5 separate regions of the Homo sapiens genome follow, and regions 2, 3, 4 and 5 are each linked to region 1. The links are contacts of gene promoters, found by promoter capture Hi-C in blood cells and fetal thymus (Javierre and others, 2016). All regions are on one chromosome and are shown on one strand. Each heading gives the region's core, a stretch centred on a gene start or on the middle of the fragment in contact. The rest is flanking DNA. Distances are from core to core; before and after follow the strand shown. Region 1 holds the start of HEG1 (heart development protein with EGF like domains 1). Region 2 overlaps ZNF148 (zinc finger protein 148). Region 3 overlaps ZNF148 (zinc finger protein 148). Region 4 overlaps ZNF148 (zinc finger protein 148). Region 5 has its middle 7.4 kb from the start of SLC12A8.

Region 1 (2,700 bases), core at 191-2,690:
TTCAGGGAAACTCCAAATCAATGTCCAGTGTTGCAAGCAACCCAGCTTATTTGAATAGCCCGGACAGAGCATATGCCCTGTGTCACTCACAGGAAGGCAAAGGCTAACACCACCACGTTGCTGACTTTGTTCAAAGCACTTTCCATTTATTTTTACTTTCATTTTGTCACATCATCACTAGGAGGCTAGAAGGAACAGGGATCATCACTTTCATTTCACAGATGGAGAAAGTGAGCGCAAAGAGACAGCAGTCCCAAGGTCATAATGGTATTATGGTTAGAATTCCACTCAGTATGTGGCATATTTTTCCAGATCATAAGAAAGAACTGGACACAAAGGTAGCAGGGAGAAGAGGTCAGTTCCTTCTCTCTGCGTGGGACAGGCGGTGGCTACCACGGAGCAACAGTTCATTGGGAAAGGAAAGGGGAGGGAGGAGGCTCAGGGATGGTCCTGTATCAGCCTGTGCCTTGCAGGGGTTCAACCATGCAACCCCAACCGCGTTCCTTTGCTTTTAAGTCGAACCAGTAGAGCGTTTTGTTTCAAACTACGTACATCCTTTGTCCTTTACAATATCCCGTCCTAGAACCCCTTAAAAATCAGTTATTTAGATGAGAAAGTCGAGCCCTGTACCTGGAGAGGCCAGTTCTGTATAGCGGAAAAAATGAAACTGGGGACCGGCTGGCCAGATATCGGAGGTGGGAGAGATGCTTTGCAGTCTTTTTCCCTTTCCTTTCCATTTTTTTTAAAGTGGGGTGGAAGAGATACAGGGTACCCCATAGGAAATAAGTTTTCTTCCAAAGGGTTGGAGGAGAACGGGATAGTCACACCCCTCAGTCCAGCCAACTGCGAAAGCGTCCCTCCCTACCCGCCGACCCTCAGGGTCCCGCACACGCCGGGCGAGGAGCCCCCACCCTGGGTCGCGCCGCGCGGAGGGGCCTACGGCTGGGGATGCAGCCCGGGGCGCGCCCACGCCCCCAGCACAGACTGGCCAGGCGCCAGGTTCCCGGCTCTCACTCACCCGCGCTCCCGCCTCTGGGGGCCCGGCCGGAGGGTCCCCGCTGTGTCGCGGCGCCTGGCTCAGGGGCCCTGTAGCTGGGGCCGGGGGTCGCGGGCCCGCGGCGCTCCCGGGGCGGCGTGGGCGGCGGCTCGCGCTCCGGGCGGCGCTCCAGCTGCAGCTCCAGCCCCGCTCCCGCGAGGGGCGCCAGGCTCAGCGCGCGGCGAGCCGGGGAAGGCGGCGGGTCCCGCGTCCCGGGGGCCGCCGGCGGCAGCAGCAGCAGCGGCAGCAACAGCAGCAGGAGCGGCGGCGGCCACCGCGAGGCGCGCGGCGAGGCCATGGTGACGGCGCCCGCCCGCGCTCACATGCCCGGCGCGCGGGGCGAGGGCAGCGGGCAGCGGGCAGCGGGCGGCGGGGGCCGCGCGGGGCCGGGGAAGTGAGCGGAGTGAGGCTGCGAGCGCGCTCCCCGCCTCAAAAGTTATCGGGAGCCGCGGGAGGGCTGCCGGGGGCCGGGCTGGCTGGGCGGAGGCGGCCCGCGGCGCCGCTACATGCTAATTAGCCCGGGCGGGTCGCTGGCTGGCGGGCGGCTCCTCCTCAGTTGACATCACCGGCCCCGCGCGGCGGGCCCGGAGGCGGGGAGAGGGCAGGAAGGGGGCTGGGGCCGGGCGCCTGGAGAGCGGCCCGGCCCGGGACAGCGGGATGAGGTCAGCGGAGCCACGGTGCTGCAACTTTTGTCACACACATGCTCCAGAGTCTTCTGAATCGGGCACCACCTACCCAACTCCTTAAACGCACAAGAAGTAGGTGAAAAGCAGGTCCTGGGTAATGTGATTAGCACCAGACTAGATTATCCCAAGTGCTTTGATAGGAGAGAGAAAGGGAACGGTCCCCTGGTACCCAGCCCGCGCTGTCACCGCCGTTATTGATTTGAAGTGTCCCCACTCCCACCCCCACCTCCCCTTCTTCAGGCCCCAGGGCTGGTGATGAGCTCGTGTTTGCCAAACCTAACACCTCACCCTCCGGCCAACGCGAGAATCCGAGTATCCCCCACGCCCTCTCAAGCTTGGATGCCGTTCCCATCCGACCACTGCCTTTGGCTCACACCAGAGTTCTGCAGAGATGTCACCGCGAGGACACCCAAACAGGCTGCAGGGAAAAGAAAACTGTGAATTCAGGCAGGCTAGGGCAAACTCATCATCAGGAAAAGAACTGCAGATCGCAAATTAAACCAAATGATGCCCAGAGAACACAGAATTTTAAATGGAAACCTATGGGGAAAGATTCAAAGATTTCATGTAAACAAATTTTCTTGGTCAATAAAGTTCCATTTGTTTCCATAACCTCTCCCTCCCCAGTAAATGAATAATAAACTGTCTAAAGTTTAGGACTGTAAGCCACCTCATTAAGTGAAGAAAGAGGGGCTCAAATGGGAAAATAACTTGCTCAAGATTCTGAAGGTAGACCCGAAGACGAAATGATTGATCTGTGAATGACCATGTGATATTATTAATTCTGGTCTCCTAATTCAGAGTTTGCAATAATTCGCAAACGGAAACAAATAGTATTGCAACAGAAACAAATGTTGCAGCTCCTTGGGGTTCTTGCGAGTTCTGTTGGGGGCCCCTGTCTGACAACCAAATGCTCGTGAAAATATGAGTATGCACCTCACTGTCAGGCCTGGCTCTCCATCCTATTTCTCTGCTCTT
Region 2 (2,700 bases), core at 183-2,682, 190 kb after region 1:
CTTATGAACAATTTGATATTATTTACCATGTTTACTCTTTTCACCTAGGAAGAAAAAAGATACGCCTTCCCATTTCACAAACCTTTGTATCCTCCGTAGTGCTTTGAATGATTTCCTCATATGGGATTTTCTACATCTTCTTAAATTCATTCCTGGGCTTGTCTTCTCATTGATATTGTGAAAAGAGTGTTTTCTTCTGTTATATCTTCTATTCCCTGCGTATGTGTGTGTGGCTATACAAAGGGTATGGTTTTCTGCTATTTTAATGAATTTACTTATTTGCAGTAATTTTTCAGTTGAACCTCTTGGGTTTTCCAAGTTTATAATCATATTGCTTGCAGAAAATATTTTTTAACTTATTTTTCTCATCCACTATTCTCAAACAATTAAAAAGAAGTAGTGATAATGGGCTCTACATCTTATTCCTGATGTGTGTACTTTCGTATGTTTCTGATTCTTTTTTTTGAAGAGCAGGGTCTCACTCTGGCACCCAGGCTGGAGTGGAGTGACACAATCATAGCTCACTGCAGCCGTGAACTCCTGGGCTCAAGTGATCCTCCCCAACTTCAGCCTCCCAAGTAGCCAGGACCACAGGCATGCACCACCATGCCCAGCTAATTAAGAAAATTTTTTTTATAGAGACAGGGTCTTGTTACGGTGTCCAGACTGGTCTCGAATTCCTGGCCTCAAGTGATCCTCCCAACTCAGCCTCCCAAAGTATTGTGATTACAGACATGAACTACCACGTCTGACCTGTTTCTTGATTCTTGAAATAAGAATAAAATGACTGATATCTATTTTTCCTGAGAAAAATAAAAACACTTAAATGAAAAATTCCCTTATTGAGAAAATCCCTTTATCATTTTTCCCCTTGAGGGCTAAAGCCTCTCTACTGGAAAAGGAAGATAAATCTATACAGCACTTGAGTGATTTCAAGAATGACACAAAAAGCTTATCTGAAAAGTATCAAGAAATTTTAAATGTTTTTTACATCCAGGAAAGCAATAACACGGTAAGGAAAAAAACAATCTCCAGGTGTCCCACAAAATGATAATTTTCCCCTACCCAAGGGCCCTAAAGTTTCTCTTCTAACAGTTTTCCAGTGAGACTGTTTCCCCAATGTGATGTTTCTCCCTGGTAACTCTGACATTGCACACAATCAGCTGTTTATGGATAAAAATTTTTACTATAATATATGGGTAACTGTTAAGGTAAACTATATATGAGAGAGTTATAAAGACATAAGATTTATGTATAATCTAGCTCACTATGGTTTGACATACTAATCTGATTTTTGGCAACTGCAAACCTTCCTTTCCCTCTTCAAACCATTCCATCCGGCTGCTGCAATGACCCACCATATCAAAATGGTTCTTGTAAATCACACTCAGGTCACCAATACAACCAAGTCTCTTCAGAAATCTTTTTTGTTTTTTTTTTTCTGAGACGGAGTTTCGCTCTTGTCCCCCAGGCTGGAGGACAATGGTGCCATCTCGGCTCACTGCAACCTCCACCTCCCTGGTTTAAGTGATTCTCCTGCCTCAGCCTCCTGAGTAGCTGGCATTACAGGCATGCACCACCATGCCCAGCTTATTTTTGTATTACTAGTAGAGATGGGGTTTCACCATGTTGGCCAGGCTGGTCTTGAACTCCTGACCTCAAGTGATCTACCCGCCTTGCCCTCCCAAAGTGCTGGGATTACAGGCATGAGCCATCGCACCTGGCCCAGAAATCTTACTAGTCCTCTCAACAAGCATTCAACTCAAAGTGATCCCTTTCTTTTTCTTGAAACTCACTTTTGCCTTGGCATCTATGACATCCATACTCCTTCAACCTCTCCAACTGCTCCTTCTCAGTGGTCTTTCCAGCTCACCCTCTTCCTTCCAAATGTGAAATGTTTTAGTTCTTCAAAACAAGCTTTCTGCTTATCTCATTCTATATTTTTCTCTTTGGCATGAAGGGAAGCCCATCTATCCATAGCTTTAATTACTCTCAAGATCTCCAAAACCACATATCCAAACTGCTTATGTAATATATCCACTTCTGTAACACTTAAGGATCTCAAATACATCATATCCCACAATAAACTTAGGGACTGTGACATGGTTTGGCTCTGTTCCGCACCCAAATTTCATCTCAAATTGTAATCCCCATAATCCCCATGTGTCAAAGAGGGACCAGGTGAGAGGTGACTGGATCATGGGGGCATTTCCCCTCATGCCGTTCTCCTGATAGTGAGTTCTCACGAGATCTGACTGCTTTCTAAAACAATTTTCCTGCTCTTGCTCGCTTTCTCTCACCTGCCACCACGTAAGACTTGCCTCTTCCCCTTCCACCATGATTGCAAGTTTCCTGATGCCTCCCCAGCCATGTGGAACTGTGAGTCAATTAAACCTCTTTTCTTTATAAATTACCAGTCTTGGGTATGTCCTTACAGCAATGTGAGAATGGACTAATACAATCTTCAACTTACAGCTTATGCCACAAATGGCACTCCTCTCCCCTCTAAACTGCACAAATGAGAGAACTGTACAGCTTTTTTCTTCTTTATCCTCTCTCCATATTTGGACAATTGACAGGCCCTACTGATTCAGCCTACTAAATACCTATCAAATCTGTTCACTTCTCTCCACTTCCCACTGTCATCACCCAAAGGTCAAGACACCATCATCCTGTGGTCTAGCCTATCACATAATATCC
Region 3 (2,700 bases), core at 182-2,681, 210 kb after region 1:
GAGGTATGCCTGTCCATCTATCATATGACCCAGCAATATCACTCCAAGGTATTTTCCCAATGGAATACTACTCAGCAATAAAAAGCAATGAATTATTGGTGCATCAACACAGATGACTTTCAAATGCACTATACTAAGTGAAGTAAGTCAGATTCAAAAAGCTACATACCATATAATTCAATTTATATGATGTTCTGGAAGAGGCAAAACTACAGAGACAAAAATCTTATCAGTGTTTGTCATGGGGTGTTGGTAGGAGAGGGGCTCACTTCAAAAAGTGCAAGGGACCCTTGGGGAGTGACAGAACTAGTCTGTATCTTGACTGTGGTAGTAGTTACAAAACTGTCAACACGCACAGAACTATACACTAAAAATGGTAAAGCTTATTGTATGTAAATTGTACATTAAAAGAAGTCTGAGGTCAACAACACATATTTCCCTTCATGGAAAACGAAGATTTAAACTACCTATACATACCTAAACATACTTAAACAAAACATTGGAAAAAATCCTGAGCTTTTTTGCAAAATAAAATAAATCACTATTTGCCCATGTTTCTCCAAAAGATCAAAACTTCCTGATTTATTGATAAGCAGAAGTACTACAAACTTACTGAATTTCTCGTCTGATTACTTCAATTTGCTCAGTGATTGATACAGGGTGGGGGAAGTGTTGGAGGTTTATGGAAAGGAGAATGTATGAAACACCTGTTTAGGAGAAAGACTGACAAGCTTTTAAAAGGGCCACAAAGTAAATATTTTAGGCTTTCAGGGGCCATATGATCTCTGTCACAGCTACTCAGCTTTGCTGTGTAGCCATAGATAATACATTAAGGAACTGGTAAGGCTCTGTTCCAATAAAATTTTAATTACGACAATAGACAGGTGGAGCTGGCCCATTGTTTGAACTAAAGACCCAATCTGGATGAGCAGGAGAATGAAAGGACTAAGGAAATCATTTCCAGAAGTCATTATGGGCCCTCTTAAAATCTAAAGTGACCCTAATTCACTGTGGCTTTCTGTTGGAGTAACACAGTCAGGTGAATAAAAAGATCATTAAATTTACTTATGGCTGTAATTTAGCCAACGTAAGTACTATGTATGAGAGGGCAAGGGTATGAATGTAAGCAAGGTAGTGAATATGATAAATGTTGACAATTTAAATTAAATAAGGAAAATGAAGATATGAGGAAAATGAGGGATAGTGAAAAGGAGGTAGAATCACTGGATTGTGGGTCCTTGTGAAGACAAAGGACTGTTGAAACCTAAGTACTAAACGACATGAGGAGGACTGATAGGAGAGAGTGCCTGGGAAATAAGAAACTACAGTCACAGGAAGACTAAAGCTTGGTGAGCACTAGTCTAACATGACCATGACAGAGGAAGAATAAATGACAGTGTCACCAAGAAAACAGAGGTCTAAGAACTGAGAGGGTGGGGCATTCAAAATAACCTGACAGGGGTTGACAAGTTTTTTTTTTTTTTTTTTTAACACAAAGGGCCACAGAGTAAATAATATTAAGCTTTGTAGACCAAAAGGTAAAATCAAGGATACTGTATACAAACTCATATAAGAGAGAAAACAATTTCCACAAAAATTTTATTAATGAAATTCAAACTATGATAATAATAATGCATAACTTTTCACCATACAGTTCTACTAATGAAAACGCTGGAATTCTCTTTTATAGGGCTTCAAAATTAGCATTCCCTATCATTAAAATCAATTGTAAATGTATGTTAATGCTGATCTGCAATGAGATTTTATGCATTTCATCTTTGAAACCGTCTTGTCACAAAGACAGATACTGATATCAATCCATGAAAATGTGATTTTATCAAGCATTATTCACCACTTGGAAGGCATTTACAGAAAATTTTATTAGATCCCTGATATTTGCCTTTTATCATGTATTACACTGGACATTAACTACTTCCAATTAAAGAGTAGGCAGAGTTGCACAATTAAGTGGATTCTGAAATATGAAAACTTTCTTTGCACTTGCATCAAGGTCCAAAATCTGACGAAATTGTAGTTTGAGCTTGGAAAATACATCCACTGCCTATTTGTGTGAGAGTGGAGATTTTGCTTCTTGTTCTAACTGATAGCATAGGAAGTACATAAAACAGCATTTTGTGATTCAATATTAGGTGCTGTCAAGATAACTTTATCATGGGAGAAATTTCACATATAAACACTGGTTTCCCTTGTAATAACAGGCTGAATTTATTAAGAAACATTTTCAAGTCTTCAGCAGAAGCTAATTTCTAAAGCTATTCTTCAGTGATTGAGATTGGTGATATTAATTCAGAAAAAGTTTAATTTTGGCTTTACATTCAAAAGCTCCCAATAAGACTTTACCACTTCTAAGATATTAAACTGCTATATAATAGAGTAAATCAGAACATTCAGCTTCCATAGCTGACAGAAATTCATGGAACACTGATAATGGTTAAGCCCACCAGAGCAAATGAAGTTCACTATTGACACTATTGGTTCAATGACACATAATGTATTCAAATGTTTCTCACAAAGTACTGGTCACAAATACTAACATGAAAGGCCATAAACTTTAAATGCTTTGTATTTCTCAAGCTTTGTAAATTAGTTCAACTAAACTATTCTGTTCCACATGTATTTTTTTTCCCACCATTCGCTGTAACACAACTTAGCAGATCCACTTCAGTTTATATTAAAATG
Region 4 (2,700 bases), core at 71-2,570, 230 kb after region 1:
ATATAGGAATATATATTTGCATAGGCATAAAAACTACTTGAGAAGGATATATATACAGAAGTATATAACCTTGATTGTGATGGCTGGGGAACTGGGCAGACAAGAGATAAAATGGGAGGGAGGTTTTACACTGTCCACTTAACACATTTTTTTGAACCATGTAAGTGGTTACCTATTACTAAAAAAAAAAGAGAACACTAACTTTTCAAGTTACAATATGGTAGAATTTATGGTCTGTTTCAGTCTAGGATCACTAAGGTTATTCTAGAACTACTAAATTATTATTAAACATATTCCTAAGAATATTTGTCAAATAAATAAATTAGAAGTGGGTATGGGGTCCATCTGGGGCATAAGTACTGAATAAGAAAATTATTCAGCACTTATAAATTCAGTTTTTTAAAAAATAGAAGTGGGTAAAAAGAAGGAAGACAAGAGACAAAGCAACCTTGTCTTTCTGGGCTTATTGAGATTAAGAGTATTGCAAGCCTGGTTTGGATGGTACCACAGAGAAACTCACCTTAGGCTGCATGTATTCCAATTTATCAACAACTTGTTCAATGTGCAACATTAAGCTGCCTTTTGGCCAGGCATGGTGGCTCAAGCCTGTAATCCCAGCACTTTGGGTGGCTGAGGTGGGTGGCTCACTTCAGTTCAGGAGTTCGAGACCAGCCTGGGCAAAATGAGGAAACCCCGTCTCCACTAAAATACAAAAATTAGCCAGGTGTGGTGGCACACACCTGTACTCTCAGCTACTTGGGAGGCTGAGGATGGGAGGATCACTTGGGCCAGGAGGTCAAGGCTGCAATGAGCCATCATCATGCCACTGCACTCCAGCCTGGGCAATACAGTAAAACCCATCTCAAAAAAAAAAAAAAATTGCCTTTCATCAGACATGTGGAAGAGTGAAAATAATGATTCCTTTTTCATTATTGACGAAAGCAAAAAAAAAAAAAAAAAGGCACAACATTATGCTGAAACAGCAAAGAAAACTAGAAGATCTGATCAGGAGGGGTATGGCCAGTGAGAGGGAAACAATGCTGTAGGTGTGGGCATACAGAATGGGAGCTAAGAAACTGTCCAACAAAGGTAGAGAAATCTGGGAAATAAATATAAAGAACTGTGGAAACTGATTAGGGCCTGCAAACACACAGCTATGACCCCTTCTCAAACCTAGAAAAGGGCAGTACGTAAGGGAAAAAAGCTTTAATCCTTAAAACATTTTTACTTTAAATTCAAGAAGACAGTTCAGCCTATACTATATGCAGATCAGTGGTAATTATTATGCAAATTATACAGGGCATTTGGATTCTGGGCAAACAGCCAATGTGGTCAACAATGCTTCAAAGTCTATGCACCAAAGTCATGGAAGGGAAACATTTGGCAGGAGAATGGAAGTGGGTGTCACAGCTTCCTGAGGAGAGTCAAAGAAAGTGGAAAGCTTCATCTCTGGGCCAGTCAGTTTTGAATTTTTTCAACCCCTCCAAGTCACATAATAATAAGCAAGTTAACACTGTGCAAAAGGAAAACACACAAAATCTTTTAAAATATGACTCAAAATATTTTATACATAAAACAAACAAAAAGATGTTAAATACTTATATAAAATGGAACTAAAAACAAGACAGCACCAGGTATTTTTTTTCATGTATGTTGATAACAAATAAGAAAATCCAACTGCCAAAAAACATGGCACTTCAATAGCTTTCTGTGGCATAGCAACTGCAAGGAAAGGCTTTGTAAAGAACAAATCTGGCCCAAGTTGCTTAATGTGAAACGGATGTAATCCTTGACTGTACAAAGCCCTTTTATGAAGAGTTAAGGAGTTCTAGGTCATTGTTTTCTGGCACTGGAGGTACTGCTGCCTTTCATTGTAGATTCAAGCCTTAATTCAAGGTGAATTTTATGGATGAAACAGCTACCACTGCCTTGTGGATAAACACACAGGAAAATCTAGCTTTTTTTAAGTTCAAAGACAGAAACACCAAATTCTTGGACATTTTATATTTTCCTTACTTTCTTTTTAGGCCAGAGTAATAAAGGACATAGAGTAAACTCATCTTGACTCAGATGAGCATCAATGGCCCTTCCAATTTGTAACCTGTTTTAAATATATCCAACTGATTTTTATTCACCCTTATAATCTCAGTGTTCAAAATGGTATCTGGAGCATAGTGGAGACTCTATACCTGTCAAAGGACCTGGCTGCCTGCTGTCCATAACAATTACTCCTCCTAGCTTACCACTTTCTTGTTTTTTAAATTTGTTGCTAAAAGCAATACTTTACTTTTCAATTTTTTAGTCTTCAGATAACTGAGTAGTGAGAGAAGCGGGTAGGCAAAGAATAAAATCCCTTAGCAGAACACAAATAGCACACTAACGCAGGCAAAATTTTCTTCCCCGGTATAGACTTGCCTTCTTTTCTTGCTCACACCTTTTCAAGATCTTTTAGTAGAATGTGATCTACCAGCTGAGTGTGTTTGCCTTAGAGATTAGCAGTCTTACCTGCAACTGGTTCCATAAAACATCTTTGCTTTTCTTTTTTCCCCAACATATGGACACCATTACAACTGAAGAATTTTATGTTTAAAATTTTGAATTCTAAGATGCCTGCTAGACATCTTCAGATGCTTTATCTTGCCCCTTGTCATTGCTACTTCAGGAGAAATATGGTATATTACATAGACCAAGCAATCAGGT
Region 5 (2,700 bases), core at 192-2,691, 160 kb after region 1:
GTTGAAAACATTAAGTCATGATGTGAATAGGTATGTACACAAAAACATATCTATCTCACAGCCTAGGCCCTGGAACCACAGTCAAAAGTGCCTCGAGAGGTGGCTCACCTAGTGTGGTGCACATTTTACAATCACCTAGGGGTGGTTTCAGAAAATACCAATACCTGGGGGACCCACCTCCAGATATTCTGACTTAATTACTTAATTGGTCTGGGGTGGGGCCTAGAAATCAGCATTTTCTTTAAACTTCTCAGATGATTCTAATGCTCAGCCAAGGTTTGAAAATCATGAGATTTCTAGCCCGATAGTATTTTTTCCCCTCTTCAAAACACCTGAGAGATGGAATACATCTTGTTGGCAGTGGTGTCTTATTGTAGTTACAATTTTCAATGACAGGGAGAAGGTGGATATATCACTAAGGCAGCACAAGTAATTTACTATTTAAAGAGAGTAATTATATAAACTGCATATATATGTTTTAGTTGGTCATTGTGATGCACCTCCCTGGGGCAAGCCTGCGTATTTAAAAAAATCACAGGAATTCTGCACACACTCACAAGGGTTTGCCGGCTCTGAGGGTGGAGCCGAGATTGGAACATAGGTCTCATTCCAATGCCAGGCTCTCTCCTCTGCACAATGCAACCTCTTTAATCCAGGTGAAGAGATAAAACAGAAAAAAGTTTTCCTTCTTCATGGACTTTGACATGCAATTCCAAGAGCCCCAGGTCCAAGAGGGTGTCCTGCCAGAGGGCCACCCAGCATTCCGGGGAGCTGGGAGGGGGTGACTCGGGAGATGCAGGCCGGAACAAAGCACAAGCCCTCACACAGGCTGAGAGAGCCTGGCTCCCAGGGAAGTTGGGGCAGGCCAGTCTCCTCCTCTGGCTTCCCTGGTAAGACTGAGTGGAGAGGGAAGGGCCGCAGCTTTCCTGGTGTCGGGTGTTCAGCTCCTGTTGGACAGGTCTCTCCTCCAGGATCTAGGCTATTTGTTGATTCTGGGGGTTTGCCCTGACAAGAGAAAGTCATTCTGCCTCTATCAGCCACCTGGCATCTGTCATGGGCTGGGACCTGGTGGGAGCACAAAACAAAATGTAGATGCAGAAAGGAGCCAGAGAAACAGGGTCCAGATTATTTTATGATGACAGTGGCAGCCTCACTAGACTGTGACAACAAAGTGATTAGCATTAGCTTTTCCTCAAATACCATCTACGGCAGACCCAGTGACAGGCTGTCTAGAGTGTAGATGAGAGAAGTCAGGTCTGGATCTGAGACCTGATTCTCCCTCTTCACTCTATGACCTTGCCCACGGTCTCCAATGTGTCTAAGCTTCCATTTTCTTACTTGTAGCATGGAGTTAATGATTAAGACCTGCCGAGCCTACCTGGCAGAGTGGTTATGAACATTCTAGAATTTTACTGGGGACTGAAATCCAGATCAGCTATCTCGTTTTCACAATCCACTATTTTCCCTCCCATTTTGAAAATCACATGTCCAGTTTTCTGGTCTTACGGCAGTTATCCAGAGCCTCAAACTCCCTGCGAGTGATTCTTCTGCCGGACCGGCAAGCTTCTCTTTCCATCCTTGGATATAACTCAGGGGCCTGCATCCCCTCCTTCAACCACATTCACCAAACATCTGTTGCTCACCGACTGTGGCCAACACAGAACACAGAGTGGGAAGCAAGACCGCTCCAGGCAGGCGGGCAAGACAGACTTTCATCAAATGCTCACACATTACAAACAGCCGTCTAGAGGCTAGAGAAACTGTACAGAGTGATGAGAGAGATTCTGAAATGGTTAATGTGACCTAATCAGGAAAATCAGGATACGCTTTTCTGGGAAAGTGATGCTAGGGCTGAAATCCAAGGGATGTATGGGGTGGGAGTAGGAGGTTTAATGGAGTGTAGAGAGAAAATAGTGCCTTTGTAGCCCAAGAGGACATGACCAAGTATCCGAAGCTGAAAGCAGTCCAGTGGTGAAAGAGGAGAGAGGATGAGAGCCTTACTGTAGGGAAGGCGGGGGCTACGAGCAGCAGATGACCTCACAGGGCCAAGGTAAGGAATGCCATGTTTCTCCAAGTAACAACTGGGAAGCTTCTGACGCATGGCTGTTATGTGGAGCAAGAACCAGAGGCCAAGAAGAATGCATGTACAGGAACTTACAGAAACCCAGGCAAGACCTGAAGGTGGTTTGGGCTGTGGTAGTAGTAAAGGGAGGGAGGGTTCCAAAGAATTTGAGAAATATTCACAAGCCCTGCCCTCCAGGAGTGGCCTGATTGATTAGATCATAGAATACTTACTGAACCCCATCCAGCAGTGAGCATTTTCCATTACTAAGCCTCACATGTGGACATGTCTCTTTTTTGCTTCTTCTTTTCTTTGCTCCTATGCAACTGGAGCAGTGAGAAAAGGGCTGGGGCCCACCTGCTCACTGATGAGTCCTGGCCATCCTACTCCTTATTCATTCGATTCTCATATACTGAGATGCCCCGGTCAGCACGAGGTGGTAAGGTGCCAAGGGGAAGGAAGTGGCTCTAGAGGCCTTACAGTTCCAGCCACATCCTCTAGCTCATTTCTATACTAGGGTTTGGGAAATGGGCATAGCACATATTGTATTAAGAGGGTGCCTTGTTTCCCACTGGCCATTGATTCTTGTGTGCCACTTTACGGAATTTTTTTTGAAGGTTATGGCAAGTGCGAGTTGT

The links. Contacts are between HindIII fragments. The CHiCAGO score rates a contact against its expected background, and 5 or more counts as called.
Region 2: a fragment that was not itself captured here is called in contact with the fragment with the promoter of HEG1 in region 1 in 1 of 17 cell types (total B cells); the score reaches 6.0 in total B cells.
Region 3: a fragment that was not itself captured here is called in contact with the fragment with the promoter of HEG1 in region 1 in 1 of 17 cell types (naive B cells); the score reaches 5.1 in naive B cells.
Region 4: a fragment that was not itself captured here is called in contact with the fragment with the promoter of HEG1 in region 1 in 1 of 17 cell types (naive B cells); the score reaches 5.3 in naive B cells.
Region 5: a fragment that was not itself captured here is called in contact with the fragment with the promoter of HEG1 in region 1 in 2 of 17 cell types (naive CD8 T cells and naive B cells); the score reaches 6.1 in naive CD8 T cells.

The regions. Positions count from the first base shown.
Region 1 is chr3:125,054,557-125,057,256 of GRCh38, forward strand. It overlaps HEG1 (heart development protein with EGF like domains 1), which reads right to left and starts at 1,441. Exons shown (of 17, transcript NM_020733.2): 1 at 1,019-1,441. The coding sequence starts at 1,334. RefSeq lists silencers at 935-1,094, 1,155-1,244, 1,325-1,704 and an enhancer at 1,955-2,004. The HindIII fragment of the contact is 2,339 bases long and covers 1-2,054 here.
Region 2 is chr3:125,243,072-125,245,771 of GRCh38, forward strand. The region is part of intron 7 of ZNF148 (zinc finger protein 148); the gene reads right to left. Among named protein-coding and RNA genes, the nearest start is that of SLC12A8, 32 kb to the left of the region's middle. The HindIII fragment of the contact is 966 bases long and covers 950-1,915 here.
Region 3 is chr3:125,260,356-125,263,055 of GRCh38, forward strand. All of the region lies in intron 7 of ZNF148 (zinc finger protein 148), which reads right to left. Among named protein-coding and RNA genes, the nearest start is that of SLC12A8, 49 kb to the left of the region's middle. The HindIII fragment of the contact is 177 bases long and covers 1,344-1,520 here.
Region 4 is chr3:125,279,816-125,282,515 of GRCh38, forward strand. All of the region lies in intron 5 of ZNF148 (zinc finger protein 148), which reads right to left. Among named protein-coding and RNA genes, the nearest start is that of SLC12A8, 68 kb to the left of the region's middle. The HindIII fragment of the contact is 237 bases long and covers 1,203-1,439 here.
Region 5 is chr3:125,218,753-125,221,452 of GRCh38, forward strand. No RefSeq gene overlaps it. Among named protein-coding and RNA genes, the nearest start is that of SLC12A8, 7.4 kb to the left of the region's middle. The HindIII fragment of the contact is 240 bases long and covers 1,322-1,561 here.